Linked DNA regions of Homo sapiens: region 1 is linked to region 2. Evidence: promoter capture Hi-C in human tissues and cell types (Jung and others, 2019). All regions are on one chromosome and are shown on one strand. Each heading gives the region's core, a stretch centred on a gene start or on the middle of the fragment in contact. The rest is flanking DNA. Distances are from core to core; before and after follow the strand shown. Region 1 has its middle 130 kb from the start of EMC2. Region 2 holds the start of TMEM74 (transmembrane protein 74).

Region 1 (7,256 bases), core at 2,704-5,203, 210 kb after region 2:
AAAACACAAGGGGAAATTTATTGTATATATTTTTCCCCTGCTATGGTATGTATGCACAAGCATAAGTTAAGAAAAATTATTGAGAAATACTATTTTCTTATTTAATCACTCCCATATAATTAAAGACTGCCCATCCTCCTCAGTTTTAAAATAGTGTACAGTGAGTTCCTAGTTCACTGGGTTAGGAAAAAACAGAGACAATGTGTCAGCACTTATTCCTCTGTTTTCTGTGCCAATTCCCTCTTCAGTCTCCAGGCTGTCGCCCTCTTCTGTGAATGTCCATATCATGGGTATTTGAGCTGAAGCCCTGGCAGCTCCAGGCTGCCCCTGCACCATGTTTTTTCTCTTACATGAAGCCTCGATTAATCATCTTTTGCCTTCGAGTGAGAAACTCAGTTCTTGAAAATGAAGAAATTCAAGTTTCGATTTCAATTAACTTAGCTTGTGACTGCTGTATCAATGGTGAATCATGCCTCTTTGAGGAGTGAGATTAACAAAAATAAATGAAAGTAATGAGGGTGGCAGCCAGGGCAAAATCACCCTTTCATTACATTACTTTCTACCAAATAACTTTACAGTGTTCCTATCAGAAGGAAGAAAAAAAAGACTTCAGAAGAATTATAATTGGCAATCCTTCATTAGCAAAAATTAAATCAATCAAGAAAGGCCTCTGGTTCTTTGATTTGGGTCCAGCATATTCACTTTCCTCACTTCCAAAGCCTTGGTTTCATGTCTCCCCCAACCCCCTACTTAAATTTGCAGCACCATGACAACCATTATATATTTTACTTGTGCATCCATTTAGAATCTATTTTCCACCATGCAAAGTCCATGAATGTTGAAGGTTTTTTCCTACTTTATTCACAACTGAATTTCCAGTATGTAGAACAATTTTTGACACATAGTACATGTTCAATAAATAAATTACTTTTTTCACATCAACATCAAATTTATTTCTACTATATTATATGATGCCAACAAATAAGATATAAATTATTACTAAAAATAATAATAATATTAACAAACTTGAGAGATATGTAGTGAAAATACTCCTAGTAGTGTTCGTATGGAGCTACATAACCTTGAACAGTTAATTTCTCTGGACTTTATTCATCTATAAGACAGTGAAGCAAATTAACCCTTAAGATCCCTTATAGCTCCAGAATCTGAGGATTCTAAGTTTAGGGTAAACCAAGGAAATGAAAGAAGAGAATGGAAGGGTCAATATCTCAGAATGCTTTTAATAATGGAATGGTGGCCTCAAAGGGTAAAATGGGACAGAGGTAAAAGTGAAAACAGGGTGTGGGGAAGTAGAGAAAGTGGTCAGTCAACTCTGAAAAGCAGGGCAGAAATGAGAGAGTTCAAGAAGAGACAGTTCATGAAGTGTTTGTCTTAGGCAATCATTGTGCACTTCAGGATGAAAGATACAAGACCAGGGATGCATTTATCATCTCTTAAGAAGTTGTTGAGGAAGAAGTTCTGAGTTAATAACTGCAGGAAGGAGGAGAACTACCCAGGAACAAAGTTTTTGTTGGGACCCTGGTATTGCCACCCATCCCTGAGGAGCTTCGGTTTCATGGCTGACTCCAGGCTGCTGACAGTGTCTTTTCATTCTTGGCTATGATGGTAGAGAATGAGCTGATGAAGTGATTCAGATACATCCTTACACTTGAAAAATCCAAAGAAAATTCTTAGTGGCCCCTCCTAGAAAATCTCAGGGGATGGTTCATCTACTGCAGGCCTTTCCCCTCCTTCTTGCCTCTGCTCACCACCACAAATAAAAGAAAGTTTTTCTGAATACTTATTTTGTTTCACAAGGCCCCAATCTCAAACTAATCTGCAGTTAAAATGTAGACATTGGAGGGGATTTATCTTAGAGAAAGTTCAACTTTCTCAATAAGTACATACTTGCACAATATTCAAAATGACTTTAAGTAAATATTTGGTTTCATTTGCTCCATTCTTTTTTTTTCTTCCACTCAGGAAAGAATGCACCAAACACATTCACATCAATTTTCTTTCTTTTTTATTTTTTTAAGCAAATCACAAAGACCCAGCTTACCAGCTTTCCTTTTTTGTTTTGTTTTGTTTTGTTTGAGACAGAGTCCTACTCTCTCCCCCAGGCTGTACGGCAGTGGCGTGATCTCGGCTCACTGCAACATCCACCTCCCAGGTTCAAGCAATTATCCAGCCTCAGCCTCCTGAGTAGCTAGAACTACAGGCACACACCACCATGCCCAGCTAATTTTTTAAATTTTTAGTAGAGACGGGGTTTCACCATATTGGCCAGGCTGGTCTTGAACTCCTGACCTCAGGTGATCCGCCCGCTTCGGCCTCCCAGAGTGCTGGGATTACAGGCGTGAGCCACCGTGCCTGGCCACAGCTATACTTTTTTAAACCTAAGCTTAACATTACATATTTAAACAATTGTCAAAACGTATCAAGTTGCCAGCATTCATGCACAACTGGAAAACATTCTTAATTTATATTAAACCAAAAATGTATTACCATTATTTAATTAATATCTTTCACTACTAAATACTGAAAAAAAAATTGAAGTTATTTCTGTACAACAGGGGTCCCCAACTCTCGGGCCACTGACCTGTAGCAGTCTGTGGCCTGCAGGAACTGGGTCACACAGCAGGAGGTGAGCAGTGGGCAAGCCAGCAAAGCATCATCTGTATTTACAGCCATTCCCCATTGCTGGCAATATCTCCTGAGTTCCATCTCCTGTCAGATCAGTGCAGTATTAGATTCTCATAGGAACGTGGACCCTACTGTGAACTGCACATGTGAGGGATCTAGGCATCATGCTTCTTATGAGAAGCTAATGCCTGATGATCTGTCACTGTCTCCCATCACTCCCAAATGGGACTTCAGGAACACAAGCTCAGGGCTCCCCCTGATTCTACATTAAGATGAGTCGTATAATTATTTCATTATATATTACAGTGTAACAATAATAATCATAGAAATAAACTACACAATAAATGTAATGTGCTTGAATCATCCCAAAACCATCCCCAACCCCCACTCCAACCGTGGAGAAATTGTCTTCCATGAAACCGGCCCCTGGTGCCAAAAAGGTTGAAGCCTGTTGCTGTAGAAGATTCATCCTGTCAATGTTAACTTCACAGCAGGACAATACTAGGAGGCTCACATTTCAGATACAACGGGAAAGCAAATCCATGCTGGTGTTAGTATGCAATCTCATCCTACTACAAAATGGTAAAGTCTCACCTTGGAGTACGTTTAATAAAAAGGCAAAGTGCACACAGAGATTTCAACAATTTTAAAGACAAAAAAAGGTCCCAACGATAAACTCAAAAGTCTATGACAAATAGGGGCTCTGTTGAGCTGTTTGTAAATACTTTAGATTAGGTACAATTAAACTGAAAGTAGTGTTTGTTTGAAATCTTTAAAAAAAAGTTCCTGTTGGCCTGGTGCGGTGGCTCACGCCTGTAATCCCAGCACTTTGGGAGGCCGAGTTGGGCAGATCACGAGGTCAGGCGATCAAGACCATCCTAGCTAACACGGCGAAACCCTGTCTCTGCTAAAAATACGAAAAAATTAGCTGGGCTTGGTGGCATGCACCTGTAGTCTCAGCTACTCGGGAGGCTGAGGCAGGAGAATCACTTGAACCCGGGAGGCAGAGGTTGCAGTGAGCCGAGATAACACCACTGCACTCCAGCCTGGGCAACAGAGCGAGACTTTGTCTCAAAAAAAAAAAAACAAAAAAAAAAAAAACAGTTCCTGTTAATCCTCAAATGGCACTTGTTATTATTTAACATTTCTGTTAAATGCATGCATTGAATTACTTGTTACCCAAGCCAGAAGCTGCTTCTTACCTTTTATCGTTTAGGACTTTAACTAGCTGTCTTTTTCAACATCTATTCCTTCTTGACAATCCTCGACAATCCTCTTTGTAGTAATTTTCCTGCCAACCATTTTAGTAGAAGTTGATAGAGATTTAAAGTTACCCATCCCAGTACCACCAAATGAGGTGGAAGAGAATGAAGTGAGACCCCCATGACCTGAATGAAGTAAATCCAAAGAAGTCAAAAACTTCCACCAAAAACTTCCCTGAAGACATCACCTGGGTTACAGAATGTGAAGCCAAACTCACGGAACTGTCAAAATGACTTCCACCTCCTCTCCGCCAACTAATCTTTCTTTGCCATATTTTTCACAGATGTCCGCTTTTTAGCATCTGACAGCACTTCATAGGCCTTGGCTACTTGTTTGAATTTTCTCTCTGCTTCTTTATTCTCAGGATTTTTATCTGGGTGTTACTTCAGTGCCAGTTTTCGATATGCCTTTCTAATATCCTCAGTTGAGGCATGTCTCTGCAAGCCCAGAACTTCATAGTAATCCACCATGTTTTAACAGATTGTTGGAACAGGTCCCAGGACAGAGGCGACTGGCAGTGAGATACAGGGGAGGCGAAGTGGTGGCCCAGGTCTCCTCTAGGCTCCAGCACCGCTGTGCTGGTGGCAGCGGCCTGCTCCGCTCTTTAAAAACAAAATCCAACTGACAAAATAACATCACTAAAATTTCATTAAATAAAAAATCACTAACATCAAATATAATCAAATAAAAACATAACTATTCCTCTAGCATAGCTACCTACAAATGCAGTAGGGTTTCCTAATTAAAACCGAAAAGAAAATAAACTCACCAAATCCCACCGGAATTCATTGAATGCGGCTAAAAAGTTTTTAAATATAGAACAGTGAGCTTGCTTTGTGAATAAGTCTGTGCATTCTTTTACTTGTTTATTTAAATTATAACTGCTGTGTTTAAATATTACAAAGAAAATAAATATATCCTTTATTGAAAGAAGTGGAAACAATAATTTTAAATGACTTAATTAGCTCTACCAATCCATTCAGCTACTGCTTTTTAGTCTGTACTAGCAGGAAACCATGACTTCCTGAATTTGGAAATGATGCATAGCCCCCAATAAACTTACACAATAATGTGGCCCATTTTTTCTTCCAAACATAACAGCAACTGATCTTTATTCATTTTGTCTAAAGTAAAAATTTGCATATCATTTCAATTTTTTAAGCGATTTCTAGTAATATTTGAAGAGTATTCCAGGTATATCTTAGCAGGCAGGTGAGGAAGGCAGACCTACTGGTTTTATTTTCATGAGAATTTCAGGGGACTGATGGTAAGAGAAACATGTCTGGGCCTCTTGGGATTGAGGAGTGGCCCAGAAATCTGGGGATAATGACTCCTGCTTAGCTTCACAGGCATTATACTGTTTGAAGAGAAACTCATTCGAAGGGAAGAAGAGTCAAGACATTACATTGGGCTGGGCACGGTAGCTCACACCCATAATCCCAGTACTTTGGGAGGTCAAGGCAGGAGGATCACTTGAGGTCAGGAGTTCGAGACTAGCCTGGCCAACATGGCAAAAATCCATCTCTACTAAAAAAAAAAAAAAAAAAAATCAGCCGGGCGTAGTGGCGCACTCCTGTCTCAGCTACTCATGAGGCTGAGGCAGGAGAATTGCTTGAACTCGGGAGGCAGTACAGCCTGAGCAACAAAGCGAGACTCAAAAAAAAAAAAAAAAAAGGACATTACCTTGGTCCATTAGCTAAGTTCAGTGTTTATTTATAAAGGTAAATGGTTTTTAGTACAGTATAATGTGGTATCATTAAAATTGTAAGTCCAAGCTGCACAAAGAATGTGTGCCAAGGAAGGAGGAGAAGGTACAGCAATTACAATATTTATCAAATGGAAAAGCACATTACTAGAAGTACCGTGGACCACTTAGAACACACTGTGACTATAGCAAAGAAGTTATATTCTGAGGAAAAAATGAGTAATTTCTGCCCTACTGCTTCCCTTCACCCAAACGTTACCACCAATAGTGAGCCATGGTTTCTAACATTTCACAAGTGAGTTGACTCATTCTTCAAGTAACATGTTATACAAATAAAAGACCAATGAAGGGAAGCTCCTGCATTGGTTTTTTAGATAGCTGGTGAAACGTTAGTTCTGGATGTGTGAAAAGGGTGTTTCTGGAAGAGATTAACATTTGAATCAGTAGACGAAGTAAAGAAGATCTGCTCTCCATAATGTGGGCAGGCATCATCCCATCCTTGGAAGACCTAGATAGAACAAAAAGATGGAGGAAGGGTGAATTCTCTCTCTCTCTTCTTAAGCTGGAGCATTCATCCCCCTTCCTTAGACGTTGGAACTCCTGGTTCGCAAGACTTCAGATTCCAGGACTTACACCACTCCCCAACACTGAGTTCTTAGGCCTTTGGACTCAGACTGAATTATACCACCAGTTTTCCTGGTTGCCCAGCTTGCAGACAGCGTATCATTAGACTTTTGGGCCTCTATGATTGCATGAGCCAATTCCCATAATAAAAATATATGTGTATTTTGGGATATATAGGATACACACACACACACACACATATCCTGTTGGTTCTGTTTCTCTGGGGAACCCTGACTAATACAGCCTATCACAACAGTGTAGTTATAAATGTATGGAGTACAAGTGTGATTTTGTTACATGCATAGATAGTGCACCAGTAAAATAAGATTTAGAGTACCCATCACCCAAATAACATACATTGTACCTATTTGGTAATTTTTTATCATCCGTTTCACTCTTTCACCTTTCTGAGTGTCCATTTTCCATCATTCCACACTCTATGTTCATGTATCACAACAGTTTAAAGCTAAATTGGGAGCAGTAAGACTGGTCAAGATTGATTGGATTTGGGATATATTTTACAGATAGAATTGACAGAATTTGATGATAGATTGGGAATTCATAGAATGCAGGAAGTACTATCAGATGAGTAGATTTCTATGAGGAGACTAGAGGACAAGAATTTAGGAGTTAGCTAATTGCACATCCTATGTTTTAGAAGTTCAAATCAATATGTATATAGAGTGCATATATATATATATATGCACATTATATATAGTTTTTTACATTTACTCATATTAAATTACCATATTTGTATATCAAAAAATGGTTGTCAAAAATTTTATATGCTTAAACCAAATAAAAATAAATTCAAGAGTAATAAGCATATAAATGTTATTTAAAACCATAGCACTTAATCAGATTGTGTATCATGCTGGAGTAAATGGAGAAGAAGAGACACAAAAACTGAGCCCTGGGACACTTCAACCTTTACAGATCAGGAAGATAAAAAGGAAGCAGAAAAAGGGAACTAAGAAGAAGTAATGTCTGAGAAAAATTAGAAAATTTTGTCTTAGAA
Region 2 (6,801 bases), core at 3,508-6,007:
CTTAACTAACTAAATATCAATGAAATTATGTAATAGAACTGCACATTGTGTATTTTTTAGTGGCTAGCTTCTTTTCTTGAGTTTTATTGTTGTGTTTTTAATATTCATATTTATTAATTTTATCCTGAAGGTACACATGGTGTTGGATCAGAAACAGATGATTTACTTAAGAGCAAATAATGACCATGCGGTCCTCTGGATCCCAATTCTTACCCTTGGCACAACACAGTGAAAGCCAGGTCAGATGTCCTAGGCGTACAAACTTTGAAGTCTGTATCACAGATGAGAAACAAGAGAAAAAAATAATTTAGTGTGTTTACATACAGAAGCAAGAGAAAACTATCTTTTCCACCCCTCCCCAAAAGATAGAAAAAAAAAATCTTTGCTCCTTGGATGCAATAATTTTGGGTTCTCTAAATGTTTCAAATATAAATACATTTCTTCAAAGCCAAATGCAGTGAGTAGGTCTAAATTACCTAGTCTATTACTACGGGAAACAAATGTTCCCAATAATTTTTTTTTTCTCTGACTCATTAAGGGTTTAAAATACATTGAATTTTGAATAACAAATTGTGATATCTGACTTTCATTAATGTCTAAATTCACTTAAGACAAAACTCAGGTAGAACAGTTAGGGGATACTGCCCCTTTTGGGAAAGGCACTTGCTCTTAACTTCGGTAATCTTCCCCATCCCTATTGTCTGTATTCAGCCACTTTATTTAAGTAACATGCCTACTTGGCCACTGTAAGCATTCTTATTAAATGGAAACCTTTCTAATTTAATGCTTTTTTTTGTTCCTAGAATCTTGTTCATTAACAAGATCTTCATTCTCTAAATTATGGTCACCTTCATTCTTAGCACCAGTATGGGGTATAGGACCATATTCCTCATGCTATCCCTATTCAATGACTGATCCTCCCTCCAGCCTATTCCAAAAATGTCTTTCTTACTTCTCTAGGACCCAGCCTCTCATAATAATAACTCCACTAATAATCCCTTAATAGTCCACTAATCAGCCCTTATTATTATTACTGAAGAAAAAGAAACTGGAACACATCCTCAGTAATTATTACAAGAGGCTGGTTGTTAAAAGTCCCAGCACTACCCTTGATTTACATGGTAAATTTACTTCTCAGAATTTTTCTTATTTTTCAACTAGTTAACTTAGTGTAGTAACGATTGCTCCTCTCACATGAAACGGAGTATAAGTAAACAGGAAAATGTGAGACATTAAAATTAGAGTAAGACCAAAATCATTATGTAGATTTCTAGATAACATTTTACAACTGTGAATTGTTTTATCAGCATATATTGAGGAACTACTGTTGCCTATGTGTCGCACTATTTCATGCCCACATATAGCTTCAAAGAAATAGAAAGAATATGTTGGTTCTCAAGGAGCTTAAATTTTATCTGGAGAGATCACATAGAAAGCACTATAAAATATACATGAAATACTTTTCTATATCTAAAATAACAGCATAAAAGAAAGCATATTATGCTACTAGAAAGCCAGTTAGAAAGGTAACGATAAGTTGAGGACGTTGAACAAGAAAGGCTTTTGAAAAAGGTTCTTGGGTCAATTTTCAGGAAAGTTTTAGACATAGACTTATGAGAGAGGGGGAAAGTATTCCAGCAAGTGGCAATTTTTGCAGAGCTTTTATTTTCAAGTGCTCAATTGGTTCATCTCTATTTTTTGTCAGCAGACTTTTAAAGGGGATTTTGTGGTGTTGGTTGGAATTGATATATTTTTAATGCTCAAGAATATGTAGACAGTCAAGTATTATTATAGGTAATCATCTCGAGTCTTCAGTTCAGTCTTGACATCTTCCCTCTCAACAGAAATACTGCACTTTCTGCAGGAGGTAAGGTGTTCAGCATGTAGATGCTGACCTTAAGGAGTTTATGATTGATTACCTTAGAGATTTAGGCACCTAAGTGAGAAGTTAAACCACATGCAGTGGCTACCTAGCCATTCCAGAAATGTCGTAAAGCAGTGGATGATAAATATCAAAAACACCAGTACTGACAAGTCCCAGCAAAGTTCACAGGAGGTGTAATCCTTGGAAGAAAAAGGCTTCAGGGAAAAAAAAAAAGTAACTTAAAATCAGTTCAGCCTGGGAATCACAGAGGTCCTCTAATCCAACTAGATGAATCCCTTCTATGAAATCACTAATAAATGGCTCTCCTTTTTTTTTTTAATCCTCACCAGTACCAGAGAATTTGCTTTCATGAGACATCAATTTAAAAGTTTTAGAAATAATGTCCTTCCTTATACAAAGTCTCAAATCAGCCTCCTTCTTAAATTTAATAGTGCTATCCAGAGCTTCTCAGATCAGTGCTTTGGCATCCTCCAGCACTCCAGTGTGTCACAGGTGTGCTGACTTATTTATTTCCTTAGCCCTCCAAGCTGTCCTGCAGAGACTGAAGTACCCACAGCCCCAGAACTATGGCCATGAGAAACCTCCTGTGTTTATCACATTGCCATAAATAGTATCACCTCTTATGTGTACTCTGCTGTAAAAAAGATTGTGAAGCATTGCTCAGTATAATGTGTTGGCAAAGAGATCAAGTCTCTGGAATCACACAGACCCAAGTTAGAACCTTAGCTCTGCCCGATATTAGTTTTCAGGCCTTGGAAAAGAAACTACATCTTTTCAAGCCTCAATTTCTACATTGCAAAATGGGTGCAATAATACTGCCTCCCTTGTGAAGTTGGTGTAAAAATTAAAGATGATAACATAATAGCACTAACAAAAAAGTATTATTGTTATTTGTTCTGCTTTTACCCTTTTAAATATACTATAGAATTCTTCTTCTATTTTTAGAAACTTCAGAATATTTGAAGCTAGTTTATTGTTTCCTCTCAGTATTCTCCTATGGCTAAATAGCCTAAGTTCCTAAGTTTTTCCTCGTCAACATAAATTCAAGTTCCTTCTACATCTTAGTTTCTCTCTTTATTTCTTTTTGCATATGTAGTACTAAGAACTGGATGCATCCCTGTAGATTTGGCTTGACAAACTAGTCCTTGAAGTGTGGATGGAATAGGGCAGTGGAGGAAAGATATTCATGCTGGAGAACCGTGTAGTAAGCAAAGGAGAAGTCATAATACATCTGTCATGTTTATCAACAAATGGGCCTCACTGGCTACAAATATAATCATATGGGGGAAAAAGAATTTTAAAGAGGGAGCATTGTGAACTCCTGTAATCATGTGACTATAGATTCTATCCAATGTAATGAAATACCAACATAATTGTCATTAAAGGAGATAGATCTCTCTTTTGAAAGCAAGCAACCACAGTATTTATGTGAGCTACAAGCACAATGTCATAATACATACTATAATCCCTAATCCCTTTTTTCTTTTTTTCTTTTTTTTTTTTTTGAGACGGAGTCTTGCTTTGTCGCCAGGCTGGAGTGGTGCAGTGGCACGATCTCTGCTCACTGCAACCTCCGCCTCCGGCTTCAAGCGATTCCCCTGCCTCAGCCTCCTGAGTAGCTGGGAGTACAGGCACGCGCCACCACGCCCGGCTAATTTTTTCTATTTTAGTAGAGACGGGGTTTCACCATGTTGGCCAGGATGGTCTCGATTTTCTGACCTCGTGATCTGCCCGCCTCGGCCTCCCAAATTGCTGGCATTACTGGCGTGAGCCATCGTGCCCAGCCCATCCATACTATAATCCTTTTTTGCTCCCCTAGAATTGTCCCAACAGGATGCTGGAAAACTGGAGATTATCTGCAAGCTACACATACCCTGGGCTTTCAGTGGCTGTTGGCTATTGCAGTCCACTCTGGTTGAAAGAGGCTGGTGACACAGTTACCTTGTCCTATCCTAAGAGTCACAACTCAGAAGATTCAACCTTCAGATTTCCTTTATTCCTGAGCCCTTTTATTCTGGCCTTCTGGTCTTTCTTCCATTCATTCCATATAGCATAACGCTTAGAATCTGTTGGTGTTCATCCCCCCCCCCCCACCTCTGCTAAGTATTAGTTGTGTGACATTGGGCAAATTATTCTACTTTGTAACTCAGTTTTGCCTTCTGTTAAAATGAGGATTTTTTTTTACAGTACTTTAACAATAAATTGTGACCATTAAATGAGATAATGTATCTATAGTGCTTAGAAGAGAGCCTGGCAATAATAAGCGCTATTTATGTTAACTGTTATTTTGAGTCATTATTATTCATACATTCAACGAATACCACTGTGCTAAATACAGGGGATGTGTTGGTACATCGGACAATCTCTTACCCCTTATGGTCATATTTCTTCTGATTTTGTGAGACACGCAATGACTTTCGAATCTGACTCCTGGATGCAATTTCAGAAGCTGCTGTTGGTAACTGTGGATGAGGCACTTACCCTCTCTGAGCCTGTTTCCACATCTGTAAAATGAGGATTAATAAAATCTACTTGGAAGATTTGTTTTGACTATTAAAAAGACAAAATATGCAAATTATCTGGCACATTTGAAGTCGAATATACTTTCCTTTTCACAGTCTTGTGGCCACACCTGAGGCTAGGGAACTCCACTCTAGGCTTAGAAAACAGTGCTGTCTTCTTAAGTGCTGGGGAGGAGTAAGAGGGTATGGCGGGAACTCATCTGCAGGAAGGGTAAAACCCAGAAGGCGTGGGAGGAGACAGAGACAGGAGGGATGCAGGGACCGCCCCTGGCCTACAACTCCCGGGATGCTCCGGGAGCGCCCCGCCCCGCCCCACCCCGCCCGCCGTGGCGGGCGCTGCCCACCCGGCGGAGCCGAGCGGCGTGCAGAGGCTACAAGTGCCGTAGCTGGTGATTGGGGGACTTTCTCCGGGAACCGTGCCGGGAGAGCGCGCGGTGCTGGAGCCGCACCGGGTGGCCGAAGCAGAAGGTGAGTGGCGGGGAGTGGGATGGGGTGGAGGCTTTGAATGCAAGGGTGAGAGCCCTGGAGCCTAGCAGAGCTGGAGCGCATATCCCCGCTCTCTCTCCTTCGTCTCCGAGTACTAGGCGGACACATCCGTACCTCGAATGCCTCAGTGGGCGCAGAGTTCACCAGAAATGGATAGCCGGATTCCTCGGCGCCTGCTGGGGGCACCGCTGCCAGGTGCTTGGGGCTCGCTCTCCCGGCTTTGCTCGCACAGGGCGCATCCAGAGGTCGCCTCCCCGAGATCAGCCTTGCCTGTGTCAGTTTAAAGCAAATATTAATGCTTTTAATTGATGACAGATGGACGAGGGAAAGTGCGTGTCCCCTCGCTTTAAGGTGCAATGTCGTTAACTGGGCTTTTAAGCAGATCAGAGGAAAAAGAGGGAGAGGACGGAAGAAAAGAGTCTTTAGCTGGTCCCCTGGGATTATCCATTCTCCACTGAGAATGGAAACCCCGGATTAGGGAGCTGCAAAGGAAATCGACTGTGCTGCTAGCATACCTCCGGTAGAACAAGCGAACAAGCGGGAGTAGCTTTTCTTTAAAGAGAGGTAGAGGCGGCCGTAGGGAATTAAGTGGGGATTTCTCTCTTCTTTTGTTATAAACTGAAAGTCTCAAAGAACCCTGCTGATTTTATCCAAGGTAGGCTAGTGTGATGAGTTAATGGTACCAAAGGTTAATCAGAGCCCCTAATGCCTGAGAAAACTGGAAGAAGAGTTATCGGTAATTGATGAAGCCTGTTACCATCACTTCATTCATTGAGGGATCCTTTAGTGGGGGTTTGTTCTAGTTTAGTAGTGATTCTTTTGCCCTGTTGTTTTTTGCTGTTTTCACTGTAGAGAAACTCCGATAACAGGAGAAAAACGTTTTCTGTTTTGCTTTTTTTGTTTTGTTTTAAACAAACTCTTAGGTGTAGCAGAAAACATGTCAATTCCCTCTCCCATATTTTGAGTTGCCAGGTTGACCTTAGGTGACCCTTGCCTGTGTTTCTGTTACCAGCTTTGGAGCTGTGGATTTTGAATTATAAGAAGCCTCAAGCCGTTGGGTTAAATCAATTATCACCCTGGATTTGGAAGCAAAATAAAAGGAGCCTTTGGTTAAAATCTCTAATGATAGTGGAAAGTGAATTTTTATTCCTTAGAAACATGGCAGAGGCAGAGAAAAGCCGATGGTTTTCTGCTCAAACCAAAGTTCTCTCCCAGAAATGCCCCTTGCTGCAGTCGGGGGTGAGGAGTGACATGTTTATAAAATTACAGAGGTAACCTTGGAAATAGCTTCTCACCTATTTGTCTCCACAGAACTCTTACTCTGTGGGTTTATAGTTTGTCTTTTATTATCAGTTCACTTCTAGATTGGGTTTGTAAAACTATCCAGATGGTCAATTTCTTGTGCATTGTGTGATAGCAAAGCATGCAGAGAGGGAGGAACACAGACCCAGGGAACGGGAGTAGCAGATCCTGCAGCTGGAGCAGGCAGGTGTGTGTGTGGAGGAGTGGGTTGGCCCATTGTATTTTGCAGGGATTGCCGTAAGGTCTGTTGCCTGTATGCTTTGGGGTCCAGAACATGCTTCCCCCATGGAGCAGTGAGGGAATAGGGCTAAGTGGAAGCACAGTGAATAAGCAGCATATGGTCTTGTAAATACAGGGCTGTGTCACTAGGGTCATTGGATGTATGAGGTGTAAGCTTAGCAGAGGTGGCTGATTAAGCTGGCCTTTTTCATCTACTTCAGAGCTATGGAATCAAAATGCTGAGTTCCTGCCCAGCTGATAGGGGTGTATAGTCATTCACTGATGGTGATGCTCCAAAGCTAATCTGTATTAGAATTTGCTCTGAACTAGGGAGAGTGTAAACACTTACAATCTTACTGAATTAACAAGTCTATGCTTCCCCAAGTC

The links. The method cuts DNA at HindIII sites, captures the fragments that hold promoters and counts their contacts. A contact is called where the count stands out against the background at its distance.
Region 1: a contact is called between a fragment that was not itself captured here and the fragment with the promoter of TMEM74 in region 2, in 2 of the 25 tissues and cell types used here (aorta and neural progenitor cells).

The regions. Positions count from the first base shown.
Region 1 is chr8:108,569,768-108,577,023 of GRCh38, reverse strand. It overlaps the pseudogene LOC101060000. Among named protein-coding and RNA genes, the nearest start is that of EMC2, 130 kb to the right of the region's middle. The HindIII fragment of the contact is 7,453 bases long and covers 227-7,256 here.
Region 2 is chr8:108,785,550-108,792,350 of GRCh38, reverse strand. It overlaps TMEM74 (transmembrane protein 74), which reads left to right and starts at 4,757. Exons shown (of 2, transcript NM_153015.3): 1 at 4,757-4,875. RefSeq lists silencers at 4,642-4,821, 5,237-5,531. The HindIII fragment of the contact is 13,104 bases long and covers 1-6,801 here.